4 separate regions of the Homo sapiens genome follow, and regions 1, 2 and 4 are each linked to region 3. Evidence: promoter capture Hi-C in human tissues and cell types (Jung and others, 2019). All regions are on one chromosome and are shown on one strand. The core of a region is centred on a gene start or on the middle of the fragment in contact, and the rest is flanking DNA. Distances in the headings are between cores, read along the strand shown.

Region 1 (3,335 bases), core at 487-2,986, 140 kb after region 3:
CAAAGTGTTAATGCTCTTTATTTATGGAAGAGTTTTAGGGTAATTCACAAGATCGTTCATCTGAACAGATGCCCAGATGGCCCGAGTGGTTTTTTTCCAACTCTTTTGTGGACTCGAGGACATACAGTTTTTTAATGGAGACGCTGTGTTTTTCTCATTTTCTTTCACAGCACACATGTTATTTCCCCACTGAATACACCCACTGTTCTTACCCTTGCACTGTCACCCATACAGGACGCACAGGGATGGACGCGGACGGAATTCTGACTCAGCCACACCTGGAGGAAATTATTGTGTCAAAAATGTGGGGACACAAGGGCTGGCACTGTGGTTTGCAATGGTTTACTGATGAGACAGCAAAAATGAGACAGGACCATCAGATGCAATAAAGATTCTAATTTAAAAAGATAAAATGTGTTTTAAAATTAAAAGATAGAACTGTGTCTCTACTGGCTGAGGAAAGAACAGACTAGATAAGTTCCCGAATGTGGCTTTCCAGATGTGCTGGGCAGGAAATGGAACTCTGAACAGCACTGGGCGTCCTTCCCCCAACCGGAGCGTCTAGCCTTGGGTACGCCACTCTGCGCTGGGTACGCCACTCTCCGCTGGGTACACCACTCTCCGCTGGGTACGCCACTCTCCGCTGGGTACGCCACTCTCCGCTGGGTACGCCACTCTCCGCTGGGTACGCCACTCTGCGCTGGGTGCGCCACTCTGCGCTGGGGACGCCACTCTGCGCTGGGGACGCCACTCTGCGCTGGGTGCGCCACTCTGCGGTGAAAATGCTGTTGTGGAAGCCCGAAGGCCTTTGATACTCTGAAAGGCCCTTAGATGAAGTGCAGACCTTGTCTAACTCTGCTGAGGTTTATGCCTCGCTGTTTAGAACCTCCCTCCTCTTGGATGGCTGGTTCTTCTGAGACGGGCGTGCATCCGAAACGAAGTGGCAACACCAAAGTCCTTAATAGGTAGCTGACATTGAAGTGAAGGGCTAAGAACACTTGTGTTAGGACAAAACAAAACCCTGGCCTACATCTCTCTGTGTCACCTGACAATGGTCAGTTCCCCTGGTAACACAGGAGCTTATTGGTGTTCCTGTAGCCACATCCCAGACCCTTTGGTTCCACAAGTAACCAAGCTCCTTCCCCCAGAAAGCAGTATTACATCCTCCTTTATCCACCTCCTGATCACCCAGCAGTGAGGGCGCGACATCTACCCTGGCTGCTCTGGGCATCTTGCTGGGTGGGAAATGGGTGAAAGGCAGTGGCGCGGGGTCTCCGTGTCTGCAGTTTGCCCATGTCGTGCTAGGTGCGGAAGCTGGGTATCATGACGCCCCCCACCCCCAACAATGTAAAACCTTACCACGAATGGCTGCATTCATCGCAGCACTTTTATTTTCCCTTCCTTAGCTGTTTGAAAACAGTGGTGCATTTCTAATGTGTGTTATTAATGTTCTCAATCTTACGTTTTTAAAAGATGTTACTGTAAATTACAGAAAGAAAATGCGAGATGCCCTGGTCTTTACCAGCGTGACACGTTCTTGGGATGTCCGATTTCCTCACTGTCTGCTGAGGCACAGGGGCTTAGGATGGCTTTAAGGAAGGGGAACTTCCTTAGGAATCTGGAGCAGGTGACAGTCCCACATCCCTCTGTCTGATTTCTTTATGGGTAGGGAAAATGTAGTGAAACAATCACAATGAGAATGCTGTCTTAGTCCTTTCAGGCTGCTATCACAAAATACCTAAGATTGGGCAATTTTTAAAGGTATTTTTTGCTCAAGTTCTGGAGGCTGGGACATTCATGATCAGTGTGGCAGCAGGTTCCGTGTCTGGGGAGAGCTTTGCACTTTATAGATGGAGCCTTCTTGCTGTGTCCTCGTGGAGTAAGAGGTGAACAAGCCCTCTCGGGCCTCTTTGATGAGGGCCCTGCTCCTGCTCCTGAGAGCTCTGCCCTCATGACCCTGATCACCTCCCGAAGACCCCACCTGTTGATGCCAACACATTGGGTGTCAGGTTTCAACGTATGAAATTCGGTGGGAACACAGACATTCAAACCGTAGCAAATGCTGTCTCCTGTTTTCATTTTTCAACTGAGGGAGATGTGGAGATTCCCATTCCAAGCCCTTGGGTGGGTTATTTCATCTGCCAAGAGTAAATTCTTCATTGCCAACAGTTTCAAGTTATAAAGGGCAAGAGGACAAGGGGACTCCATCTTGCCTTTTTATGTGCCCAGATTTGTCCATGGAAGACCAGTATTCAGGTCACAAGCATGAGACCCACTTGACTTCGTACATCAATCTCCTTATGTCCTGCTCTTCCATTCTATAAGAGTGGCATTGGTGGACCGGAATGTTCCCAGGACAGGGTTACCGAGTCTAAAGGGAGGGTTTAAGACAGACTTCGCAAAATTAGATGAACCGCTGTGAAATATTTGGAGGTCTGGCATGGGTATTTTGCATAGTAGAACTGTTGATGTGTGGTGGAAGGAACAGGCTGATGGTGCCTCAAAATAAAACGTCACCTGTAGGTTAGGCTGTGCAGGAGTAGATGACTCGCCCTGACCCTGTGTCTTAGCAGAAGCTCGACATTCATTTTTAAGGAATACAATATTAGAGTCCTTACTCAGAGAAGTAAATTGGAACCAGATAAACATGCAAGTTTCACTTAATCAAAAGATCTTAGGCTTCTTTAAAATTGTAGAAATGGTACAGAAAGTTTTCAACCTTATGAATTTGCTTAACAAATTCTGTGCCATGTGGTAAGCACTGAAATAGGTGCAGGCATAGAAATATGAACAAAATGGAACCTGCTGTTTGGGCTGTCACAGTGGAGGAGGAACATGGGTCTAAAAATGATGAGTTCTAGGCCAGGCACCTGTAATCCCAGCTCACACCTGTAATCCCAGCACTTTGGTAGGCTGAAGTGGGCGGATCACGAGGTCAGGAGATCGAGATCATCCTGGCCAACATGGTGAAACCTCGTCTCTACTACAATTAGAAAAATTAGCTGGGCATGGTGGCACGTACCTGTAGTCCCAGCTACTCGGCAGGCTGAGGCAGGATAATCGCTTGAACCAGGGAGCCAGAGGTTGCAGTGAGCCGAGATCGCACCACTGCACTCCAGCCTGATGACAGAGTGAGACTGTCTCAAAAAAAAAAAAAAAAATGAGTTCTAATTCAGAGGGAATACATACAAGCTCACAATGTCTGTGGAAGAGGAATGGAGCCTCTTCCATTGGGGAGTGAGGTCAAGGATCTAATCAGATACCCAGGTGTCACCAGGACTAGGTGACACACACCTGAAACTTTTGGAAGGATGTGATATAATGGGGTAATTAGG
Region 2 (3,577 bases), core at 865-3,364, 240 kb before region 3:
AATGAATCTGCATGATATTTAGCCCCAAAAGTTGTCTTGTGCCTCAGTCAAGGAGAGGAAGCCTGAGGCCCCTGCATCACTGTGCTTGCTGCCTGAGCAGGGGCTCTACTGGGAGGCCCCCCCCAGGGCCTGGGGGTCCCCTTGTTTTCCTTGCTCGAGATATGCCCTGGGTTGAACACTCTCCCCCCAAATTCACACCACCTGGAGCCTTTGCATGTGACCTTCTTTGGAGATAGAGTCTCTTTAGATATGATCCAGTTAAGATGAGGTCATAGTAGATTAGGGTGTGGGCCCTAAATCCATGGACCACTTATGTCCTTAAAAGAAGGGGGACATTAGAACACAGACACAGAGAGGACCCTGAATGCCATGCAGAGATGGAGGCAGAGATCAGAAGGATGCAGCTAGAAGCCAAGGGGTGTCAAGAAGTGCCCAGAACTCCCAGAAACTGGGAGAGGCAGGAATCTATTGCAAATGAAGCCAGGCACCCAGGGGTGCAGATGTATCAGTCAGGGAGGCTCAGGCAAGGCACAGGATCCAAACAAGTTAGTCAAAGGCCCAGGCCCAGCACCCTTGACCCTTGGGAACAGCACCCACAGGAACAGTGTCTGACTCCCAGTGGAAATGCAATGATCCATTCTATCAATGCGTCAGTGACACCCATCCTCCACTTTGGGGGATCCATTCTATTAATGAATTAATGACACCCATCCTCCACTTAGGGGGATCCATTCTATCAGTGAATCAGTGAAACCCATCCTTCACTTTGGGGGATCCATTCTATCAGTGACCAGTGAAACCCATCTTCTACTTTGGGGGATCCATTCTATCAATGAATCAATGCAACCCATCCTCCACTTTGGGGAATCCATTCTATCAGTGACCAGTGAAACCCATCCTCCACTTTGGGGGATCCATTCTATTCATGAGTCAATGAAACCCATCCTCTACTTTGTGGGGAATGATCCACTTATTCCAGCGGATATCTTAACATTTTGAAAGTATTTCCTTTCACATCTGTGTGGGAGAACTCACGACTTCACCATGGAATGAGAAACCCGAAAGGTTGATTATACTCTGGAGGCCTCGGTGAAAAGTCAGTTCTTGGTGGAGAGCGGGTGGTGGTTGCACAAAGATGGTTTTCAAGTCTGAGTATAAGTAAATGTTATGTTTTGGAACACGCCCACCAAATCGACCCCAGAACTGCATTTGCCTCCTGGAAATGTTCAGCAAGGTCTGCCATGAAATGCAGCCAGGACCTCTGGAATGAGTGCAGATTTTAACAAAACCCTGATCTCACAGGCACTGGGGTTTCTATAAGTAAATTGATAGTCGACACAGCTTTAGCTATAGCGGTTCTCAGAGGTACACCCACAGCCCTGTGCACGTGTCCTTCTTAGGTCATGAATCACCAAGTCATTCTTCTTGGACACTCCAATCGCCGGTGAGAGGTAACATGGTTCCCATCTGCAGTGAGGAAACTGAGCCTCAAGAGGTTCAGGGGACATGAGGACCCCCAGGGCTTCCACACCGCCTCCATGCCGACTCCCCAACACTGCGCGGAGAGGTGGCCTCTTCCTCATAGAGGGTGGGCTGCACCCCATGCGCAGAGGACACCGCCGTCAGTCCTGGCTGACGACCCTGCACTCCCTCCTTGGCGTGTCCTAGATACACGTGTGCGAGATCTCAGTGTTAATTGTGCTTTTGTTGTAACAGGGCCACGCAGCGTATTCCTCCACAGACCATGCTTCATTTCATCTCCGGGATGAAGGCGGATAAAAGGCTTTTCTGTCCTGTGCTGCTGTTTGCTGCTGCCTCAAAACAATTCTGCAAAACTGGTAAGAAGCAAAGCTTTTGTTGCTGCATATGGGAAGGAGAGTGTCGCCTGTCAGCTGTGGCACATCCCGTCCTGGGTGCAGCTGGTCACCCTTGCAGGGCGAGCTGCAAAAGAGACAGTGGATTCCTTTGCCACGTTCTTGCTGCCTCTCAAAATAGAACTGCTTTAAAGTTGTCACTCTTGAAGTCATTCCGTTAATTTGTTTCTGATATCTGCTTATTTTATGTCTGCCTTTGACTTTCTTTTTCAAATGTCACCACATTGTGCTTTCTCTTCCTTTAAAAGAATTCCAGGGTGGTTCTTTCTCTCCCATCCTCACTATGGCATCTTTGGCTTGTATTTTCAGCACTTGCCTCCTTTTAAAAATTGCTTGACCCAGGTGGGCATGGTGGCTCATATCTGTAATCCCAGCACTTTGGGAGGCCAAGGCAGGTGCATTGCTTGAGGGCAGAAGTTCGAGACCAGCCTGACCAACATGGTGAAATTCGTCTCTACTAAAAATACAAAAATCAGCCAGTCGTGCTGGGCGTGCCTGTAGTCCCAGCTACTCAGGAGGCTCAGGCAGGAGAATCGCTTGAACTCGGGAGGTGGAGGTTACAGTGAGCTGAGATTGTGCCACTGCACTCCAGGTGGGGTGATAGAGCGAGTCTTCGTCTCAAAGGAAAAAAAGAAATTGCCTTACCCGTTTTTTTTGTTTTGTTTTGTTTTGTTTTGTTTTTTGATTTTTTGAGATGGAGTCTTGCTCTGTCGCCCAGGCTGGGGTGCAGTGGTGCAGTCTCGGCTTATTGCAAGCTCTGCCTCCCGGGTTCACGGCATTCTCCTTCCTCAGCCTCCGGAGTAGCTGGGACTACAGACGCCCACCACCACACCCAGCTAAATTTTTTGCATTTTTAGTAGAGACGGGGTTTCACTGTGTTAGCCAGGATGGTCTCGATCTCCTGACCTCGTGATCCACCCACCTTGGCCTCCCAAAGTGCTGGGGTTACAGGCATGAGCCACCATGCCCGGCCTTTTTTTTTTTTTGGAGGGAGTTCTTAAGACTTTCTCCCAAGAACACCCTGAAAACTGCTGACGGACTTGAGAGCTTCTGGATTCCATGAACTTCTGGACAAATGCATCGGCTGTGGGATAGTCTCAGCTTTGAACTTCAAGATTCCAAACCTGAGAAAAATGAGAAACAGAACTTCAGTTTGGATATTCAGATTTTACATTTTTCAACATTAAACTAGGAATTTTCCTCTCATCTCGGTCCAGTGAGCCCTTCTAGAAATGGGGACCATTCAGTCCTCTGTCTCATGGGGCTTTTGTGTACAGATTGGTGGCCGATTGCCTGCAAGTCTGGGAACACCCATGCATGTTGAGGGTTCCAACAACCTTCTGGCACACCAGCCAGCTGACCCCTTAACTGGATTAAGGAAGACCTAGAAAACTGGCCAAGCATTATTTTTGGATGTGTCTGTGATGGTGTCTCCAGAGATTTACACGTGATCTGAGTGGACCTGCGGGGGAATGTCCACCCTCAATGATGTGGGCAGCAACCACCCAGTCAGCTGCAGACCCGCAGAGAAGGAAAGCAGAGAAAAGGGGAATGTGCTGGTCTATCTGCTGGAGCCGAGATACACCCTTCTTCTCCTCTCCTCGACATCAGAACTCCAGGCTCCGGCCTTTGGGCTCCAGGACTTACACACCAGTGGCTTCCCCACAACACCCAGGTTCTGAGGCTTTCACCCTTGGACAGAG
Region 3 (3,603 bases), core at 642-3,141:
TTTTATGTGGAGGGGTTTGGAAGTCTTGATCACCATTCAATGATCTACCTTGTCCATTTTCAACACATGGAAATTGTTAGCGCAAGTTTGTACTTTAAAATAGACCCAAGAATGCAGATGAACGTAGGTTTACAGGACTGATATTCATTCCAAAATCCTACCAAAAAGCTATTAAAGTGTCTTCAAATTTTAATCTTTGTTGTTACCTACATGTATGTAATAATATGTGTATACAAGGACATTTACGGCTTTGTAATTAACTGAATTTGGGGATACTTTCTTTGTGCATTTTCACAGTGTACTGAAATGAATGGTGGGCACGTCAATACTTTTCGGTGAATCAGACTTAAACGTGATTGCTGAAGAATACATCCCACTTAGGCATTCATGCTGAAGCCAGCAACAATTGTCCGTGACCTTTAACATGCCCGCTCTCCAAATCAGTGCAGGTCGTTAGTCACACGGAGCTTACATTTGAGGACTCGCGGATCCTTCATAGCGGAGGTTGTCCCTGTCTTTCTGCCTGACTCCCCCCCGCCCCCCGACCCCGACACACACTCCCCACCGCCCCCAGAAACATCACACATGCAGAATGCCCCCCCCGTCTGATCGCCAGCTTTCGGGCACATGCGCCTCCCTTTGCAGCGCGTCTGGAGTAGTTTCTTTTGTAAACGCCCTAAGTTGGGGAGGGCCGCGGGCTGCGAGTGTGAGGCGCAGAGAGAGACGCCGCCGCTGAGGTAACCGCCAGGATTGCAGCGCTGATTGCTACGCGGAGCCACGTTGGGCGTCTTGGACGGAATCCACCTCCACTGCGGAGTTATCACGAGGAGAAGGAGAACAATACGGCCAGGAGCCTGGTGGGAGAAGATAGTGTTACCCCTCCGCAGGCCGCAGCTCCCCGGGTCTACGTCACCGGCCGTGAAGGGGCGCTCGCCCTCGCTAGCTCCGACCCGCCCCTCCCCCGCCCCCGCGCGCCCGCCCTCCCCTCCCCCACCCCGGCCATCCCTGCCCTGTAACAGGAGAGCGTTTTGGAGTCAAATTAGGATTTCTAGTCCCAGACTCAACTTATTACAACTAACTACTGCTCGTGGGGAGTAGGTGAGGTGAAGAAATGAAGTTTTAAGAACAGAAAAATAAGAGTTGAACTTTCGAGGCTACCGGTAAACAACCCCTTCATTTTTAAATGGCCGGGTGGCAGAGCCGCTGTTTGAAGTCTTTCCAGCGGGACCTCTGTGACCCTTGATTCAGGACTTAATGTATTGATCCTGCATCTGAACACCCCCAGAGGCATTTACCAGGAAGTTGAGTGACACGCACACGCTACGCCGTGTGTAATGCACACGCACCTGGGACCCCCGAAGGGGTGTCCCCATTTCAGTCCAGATGGGGCGCAGTGCCCAGGTACCCGCCGGCGGGACCCGCATCCCGAGCACGTCTGTACGTATGGATGCGCGTGTGCGCGCGGAAACGGCCTCCGGGAGCCGGGGCTGCAGCAGCCTTAGACCTTGACGAGGGGCGACCACTGGCCGCTGGAACCGTGATTCAGTGCTATTAGGGGAGGAATTGGCTGTGTCTGAGTCACTGCAAGCCTCCAGACTGTCCCCTCAGTGTGGCAGAACTTTGTGCTGATGAGACAATAGTGGAGTGTGCGTTTCCTACAGGGCAGACCATTTCCAGGCTGGGGGAAGCCTCCGGCCTGCGCCGGGCCGTGAGCGCCCGGCCCCCTCCCCGTGCCGCGCAGCCCCCCGAGCCCGGCTCGCGCCGGGGCCCCCGCGGGGCGGACGCGTCCGGGGCGCGCGCGGGCGGCGCGAGGAGGGGGCCGGGCGCGTGGCGGGCCCCGCGCGCCCTCGCGCGTCCCCCGCGCCCGGGCGCAGCTGGCGCGGTCGGTCTAGTGCAGCGCTCGGCTCCGCGCCGCGGGCGCTCGGCTTCACCTTCAGATGCGCGGGGCGTGCGCGTCCTCCTCCCCAGGCCCGCCGCCTCCCTGCCAAGGTAGGGGCCGCGGGCGGGGGGAGGGCTGCGCCGCAGGGGCCGCGGGCGGGCGGTGGGCGCGGGGCCCGGAGCCCCGACGTGCCCCGTACTCTGGTGTGCGCCGCTGGGGGTAGGGGGGGAGGCGCTGGGGAGGGGGGTGCGCCGGGGAGGGGCCCCCCGGGCGCGGGGAGGGCTACTTGGCTTTCCCGGTGGGTAGTTGCTCTGCTCGTCAATTCCAGGATAGGGGAAGATGCAACTTCGGGCGGCGGGGCGAGCGCCCGGGAGGTGGTTTTTACCGCAGTGGAGGGGCGGGGTGGGGGCCGGGGTGGGAGCGCGGAAGAGGCTCTGGCTTTGTACACTTTGTCAAAGGCGACGCGGGAGGAGGGGAGCTCGGATGCGCTCTCCATCCATTAGGAGACAAAGAGCAAATTGCCTTACTTTAAAGTAAAACGCTCCGGCTAATGAAGGTGGGTGATGGGGCTGCGGGCCCGAGGAGCCGCTTCAATTATTAAGGGTTTGGCGGATGGGATCGATGCCTGTGGGCACCGCGCGCTGCTGCCTAGGGGACGTGTTTGCGTGGAGGTGGGGGTGGCCTTGTTTTTTACGGCCCCCTCCCCGGCTGCTTGCCAGTCTGCTGGGAGCTTCTAAGTGACCCTAACGTTAAAGAAGTGAGAGGTCCTGGAAGGGAAGTTCGGGCGGGGGTGGGGGTGGGGGCGAGGGTCTGGCACCGACTCGGAGAGGGGTGGGCAGGGACTCCTCGGAGCTGCGCCCCGCCGGGTGCGGGTGGGGGAGGCCTCGGTGGCGAGATGAACCCGGGTGTATGAAGGAAGAATGCGGTGGGGTGTGTGTGGTTGGGCGGGAGGTGGGGGGAGGCGCCTCCGCTGCCATTTCCAGGGAGAACTAACAGACTGAATAGTTACGATCAGTATTTAGATTAAACCGCCTCAAGTTTTAACGAAACTTTGTATGAATAAGTTTGTTAAATGGCAGCCGAGTGGGGTATTTAAAAGCAGCAGTTTATGTGTGTGGTGAGGAAAGCCAGTGGACCCCCGCAATTAGGGACCAGAGGGAACCAGCCTTTTACCCGAAAAATGTGGGTCTGTAAGTCAGCCTCATCTATTATCAGCGTTAATAAGCTTCCCGCAGCAGACCGGGAGCTCTGGGGGCTGTGTGTGTGTCTTACTCATTCCGCTGATAAAGAGTCACCGGGTCTCCGGGTGTGCAAAGATCAACTTGCGCAGCCCTCTTTTTAAATATATTCATTCTGTGCTTTATTTAATCCAGATGCACAAAAAGCCATTTGCTGCTGCATTGTTGGTTTACATTTTTTGAAAAGGCGACTGGTGTAACCTGTGGAATTTGAAATGCAAATAAGAGCCTGTGGGAGTAGAGGCAGAACAGATCAGCATTTATAAAGTGGAAAAGATTTAATGTCTTTGAAATCATTGCAGGGGAAGAAACTGGAGGGGGAGTGTGATTTTTCAGGGAGTGAATTGTGACGTCAGGTCTTTTTGGAAAAGATGTTATTTTTAAGGTCTGAAACCCGGCTAGGTAAAGTGCTTACAGGAAAAACAGATTACAAGATTAACATCTGTTAACATGATCGTTTATCTCCAGCCAAAAATAGGTCAGTTC
Region 4 (3,615 bases), core at 374-2,873, 160 kb after region 3:
ATATTTAAGAGGCAGAAGTGGCTAGATTTTGTCATGGCTTAGACAGGATGGGAACTGGGCTGAAGGCAAAGGCTAGCTTCCAGATTTCTAGGAGGCATAATGGGAGGGGCATCTCCTGAGTAAGAGAAACACCAAAGGAGGAGCAGACACCTGGATGACAATGAAAAGTCAGGTTTGAGGTGAAATGCAGTGGAGGTGAGTGGACTAATTTGTATGAGGCTGCAGAGGGCACATGTTCTTTAGCATCCCTCTCAATGACTGCCATGAGGACACGGGAGCCTGATTTTTAGATGACAAATACTGAAAGGTATGAAAAAGATCCTAGTGACACTTAATTCAACAAGAAAACACCATATTTCTATGACTTTTCTTAGATGGCATTTTTGATATCATGGACACCAACAGGATGTAAATTCACACTTCTTATATCCCTCCAAAAGCCAACTAGTTATCAATTATTGTTGATTCTTCTTCTAAAATGTCTCTCAAGGAAGTCTTCCACCACTGTGTTAACTTAATCCTGCTCTGTATTGCCTTCAGAAAATTAAGACCCTCCCAAATGAATTTTCTGCATCCATCTTCTCTTACCTCCATCTACCCACTACAAAGCTTATAATCAGCTTTATAAATGAAATCCTGAACTACCATTTAACTCTTTGGACAGTATTAAAACTCAGATAGTTTTGTGGTTGGCATTGGCTGTGCCGAATTATCTGTTGTCAACTGTGCCTCAATCTCTTCCAGAGTCTCCTGTGCCCTGCAGAAGAGAAGCCTGCAGCTACACTGACCAGCATTCCTTCTGCTGCAGGGTTCCAGGTTAAAGACTGCCAAGAGGCACTGTAGGGAGGTTTGGAAGGTGGAAGATAAGGAGAACTGTTACTCTCCAGTAGATTCGATGGCAGAAACAAAGGTGGAAGGTGCATTCTTGAGCATCATCTACTCAGTGCTGCCTGCAGCTGTGCTTGGGAGACAGCTCCTGCTGAGATGTCTGAAAGCTTTGGTGGCATTGAGTATCCTGTAAATTATCTGCTTGAGCAGTTGGATTCCACCCTTCACCCTCCAGCCTTCCAGGAGGCTATGGAAGCCTCCAATGATTTCCTGCATTAAACCGAGAATACCTAGATTGACTTCTGTTTTCCTGAAGCAGTCACCCTTCACATGACCCCAAACTGATCGTTGTAAACTCAACTCTCTTCATACTGTCATTTCTCTCATCCCCAGTATCATAGCTTCCAGTCACAATCAATCATGGGCTTCCCCTGGAGAGTTTTTCCCACTCCCTGGAGGGGTTTAGTGACCAGCTCAGTGCCTGGCATCAGGAAAACACTCAATGGATGTATGGTAATAAAATAAATATATGCATGAATCTTTATATCTTTGCCTCTTTTGTGTCCTCTGCTTCAGTTGCCTATCTTCCAATCCTATTGTGCAAGGGCCTGCACATGAGTTATTTGTTAATTCAAAAGATATTTATGAATACCTACACAAACAAATGTATCACTATCCAGTTCAAATTCCCTATGAACCCCTTCCCAAATTTTTCATGCAGATTTAATTGCCAGGTCTTTTGTGTTTCCACAGAAATTTGTACACACAGGGCCAGCTGCATAATTTGTAAGGCCCAGTGTAAAATGAAAATGGAGGGAGGCTCTTTGTTAAAGAAGCAAGATGAAAGATGTCATTAGAGGTACAGGTGCCATAGAAAGATTTTGCCTCTCTTTTGGGTCTCTCTCTCTCTGCTATCATGGTGATTTTTAGTTACTATATAGCATCATGTTCCTTCAGGTCCAGGCACGTCTGTGGGGCTGGCACAGACCTTCATGGGCACTGGGGGCCACCCCATGACCTGGCACAAGTGCTGTCCATCCTGGGCTAGTGTGTGGAGCCTTGGTGGGGCAAGAGGTTCAGCCTGGCATTTCCTCTCCCATGTAGTTGTGATCCCATCCCACATGAATGGATGACTCCAAGGCCATTGCTACCTTTACGCTAGTACTGTGTGTAAGCCCCATCAAAGCTCCAAGCCCCTGACACATGCTCCACTATTCCAGTGGATTTCAGTTACAAAACACAAATTAAAAGATAAAATCATTATGAATTTCGAGATGGCACTCACAGAGCATTAGAACCCAAGCACAGGTCCCTGGTTATATGCCCCAGAAGCCAGTCCTGGGCACAGCTTGCTTGATGATCAGAGCCAAGAGCATGGACCCTGGAATCAGCCTGTCTGGGCTTGATATCGGCTTGGCTGCTCACTTCCTGCATGACCCTGGGGAGTTGCCAAACTTCCTGAAGCTTCTGCTTCCCCATCTAGAGGATGAGGGAATAACTGTGCTTACCACCCAGGGCTGTTGTTACCATTAAATAAAACAATATATGTATAATCCAGCTCCCAGCACACAGCATGTACCCAATAAATGTTTGCCAATATTATTGTAGTATTCATCCCATGAGATTAAAAAGATAACACAAGTTACAGCATTCCGTGGGAGCATTCGTCTTGGCTTTGACTGTCCCTGAGCCTCTCATATCTCCAGGGCCCCTCCAGGTCACAGAGTCTTGTTCTTTTCTGCTTTTGCCTGCCAAGGGCCATGGGGCACACATGGCGGGCAGGGGGTCCACTCTCACAGTGTTGACTCTGTGCCCGAGGCACCAAGACTCAGCTGCTCCAGAGGCATCCCTTGCTGCATACCAGCTGTGATCCATAATGAGGGAGTATGTCCCCCAACTCTGTCATTGGCACATCCCAACAAGAGTCCCAGTGTCCCCACAGTGTCCCCCACAGTTTGCTGTGAGAATAGATTGTTCAGCTTCTTCCCAGGGCCCCCCTTTTCCCTGATATGAGTCATTGGGGCCCAGTGGGCATGATGATATTAGGTACATTGTTTCACTGGCTAGAAACTCTTTCCCCACCCATTCTTCATGCATGACCAGACATACTTGTAAGAAAACATTTTAAATGGTCCATTTTCAAGGCATGATAAATCTAAGTACTGGTAGCCAGCCTGCAAATGTAACAAACCGCATGGCTCATGCACCTAGGTTATGATAAGTGAACAGAATGTAGAGGAGGGGTCAGCCCATAAAAGGGAAGAAAGTTTTGTTTTTGGGAAATTGAAACTTTGGGGTATAATCTTATAAGCGGATAATAGAACTTAGGCGACTTCCAGGAAGATTGTAACCCCCCAGTACTTGACCAGTGGGGAACTGGGGGAGGGATTTGCCTGCTAGTAGATAAATTACCTGCTGTTACTGCCGTGGGTGTGCCCACCTACCAGACACCCGATCTTGCAAGACCACCATTAAAAGTCTCGCTTCAGCTGTTCTTCCTGTCTCCGAGTCCATTCTTTGGGTTTGGATGCGTGAATGTGTGTGTCTCACAAACCGAACCTCAGTGTAGCTTCAGGTCCGACTCACATACATAGGTGACTTGTGGTTCTCTCATCTGTCAAGCAACGTGTTCTAGAGATGGGAGATACGTGATTAGTGAGTCCCTCCAGTGATTCCTGACTGCCCACCATGTGTTCTATGCAAACAAATCTGTGCCTAGGGCCCTACATGGCCCTACATAGACCCTGGTGCAAAGTTAGAATCCAACTGATTTACTTATTTTCAAGT

What was found. Contacts are between HindIII fragments. The study calls those that stand out against the background at their distance.
Region 1: a contact is called between a fragment that was not itself captured here and the fragment with the promoter of ZNF516 in region 3, in 1 of the 25 tissues and cell types used here (lymphoblastoid cells).
Region 2: a contact is called between a fragment that was not itself captured here and the fragment with the promoter of ZNF516 in region 3, in 1 of the 25 tissues and cell types used here (lymphoblastoid cells).
Region 4: a fragment that was not itself captured here is called in contact with the fragment with the promoter of ZNF516 in region 3 in 2 of the 25 tissues and cell types used here (hippocampus and mesenchymal stem cells).

The regions. Positions count from the first base shown.
Region 1 is chr18:76,354,755-76,358,089 of GRCh38, reverse strand. ZNF516 (zinc finger protein 516) reads left to right here. Exons shown (of 7, transcript NM_014643.4): 7 at 1-408. Among named protein-coding and RNA genes, the nearest start is that of ZNF516-AS1, 140 kb to the left of the region's middle. The HindIII fragment of the contact is 7,389 bases long and covers 1-3,335 here.
Region 2 is chr18:76,734,507-76,738,083 of GRCh38, reverse strand. No RefSeq gene overlaps it. Among named protein-coding and RNA genes, the nearest start is that of LINC01879, 46 kb to the right of the region's middle. The HindIII fragment of the contact is 4,435 bases long and covers 1-3,577 here.
Region 3 is chr18:76,493,530-76,497,132 of GRCh38, reverse strand. It overlaps ZNF516 (zinc finger protein 516), which reads left to right and starts at 1,891. Exons shown (of 7, transcript NM_014643.4): 1 at 1,891-1,989. It overlaps ZNF516-DT (ZNF516 divergent transcript), which reads right to left and starts at 1,794. Exons shown (of 2, transcript NR_164145.1): 1 at 1,347-1,794; 2 at 1-854. ZNF516-AS1 (ZNF516 antisense RNA 1) reads right to left here. Exons shown (of 2, transcript NR_136504.1): 2 at 3,215-3,603. RefSeq lists silencers at 1,782-1,841, 1,972-2,071, 2,772-2,861. The HindIII fragment of the contact is 9,582 bases long and covers 1-3,603 here.
Region 4 is chr18:76,338,102-76,341,716 of GRCh38, reverse strand. No RefSeq gene overlaps it. Among named protein-coding and RNA genes, the nearest start is that of LINC01893, 130 kb to the right of the region's middle. The HindIII fragment of the contact is 3,027 bases long and covers 110-3,136 here.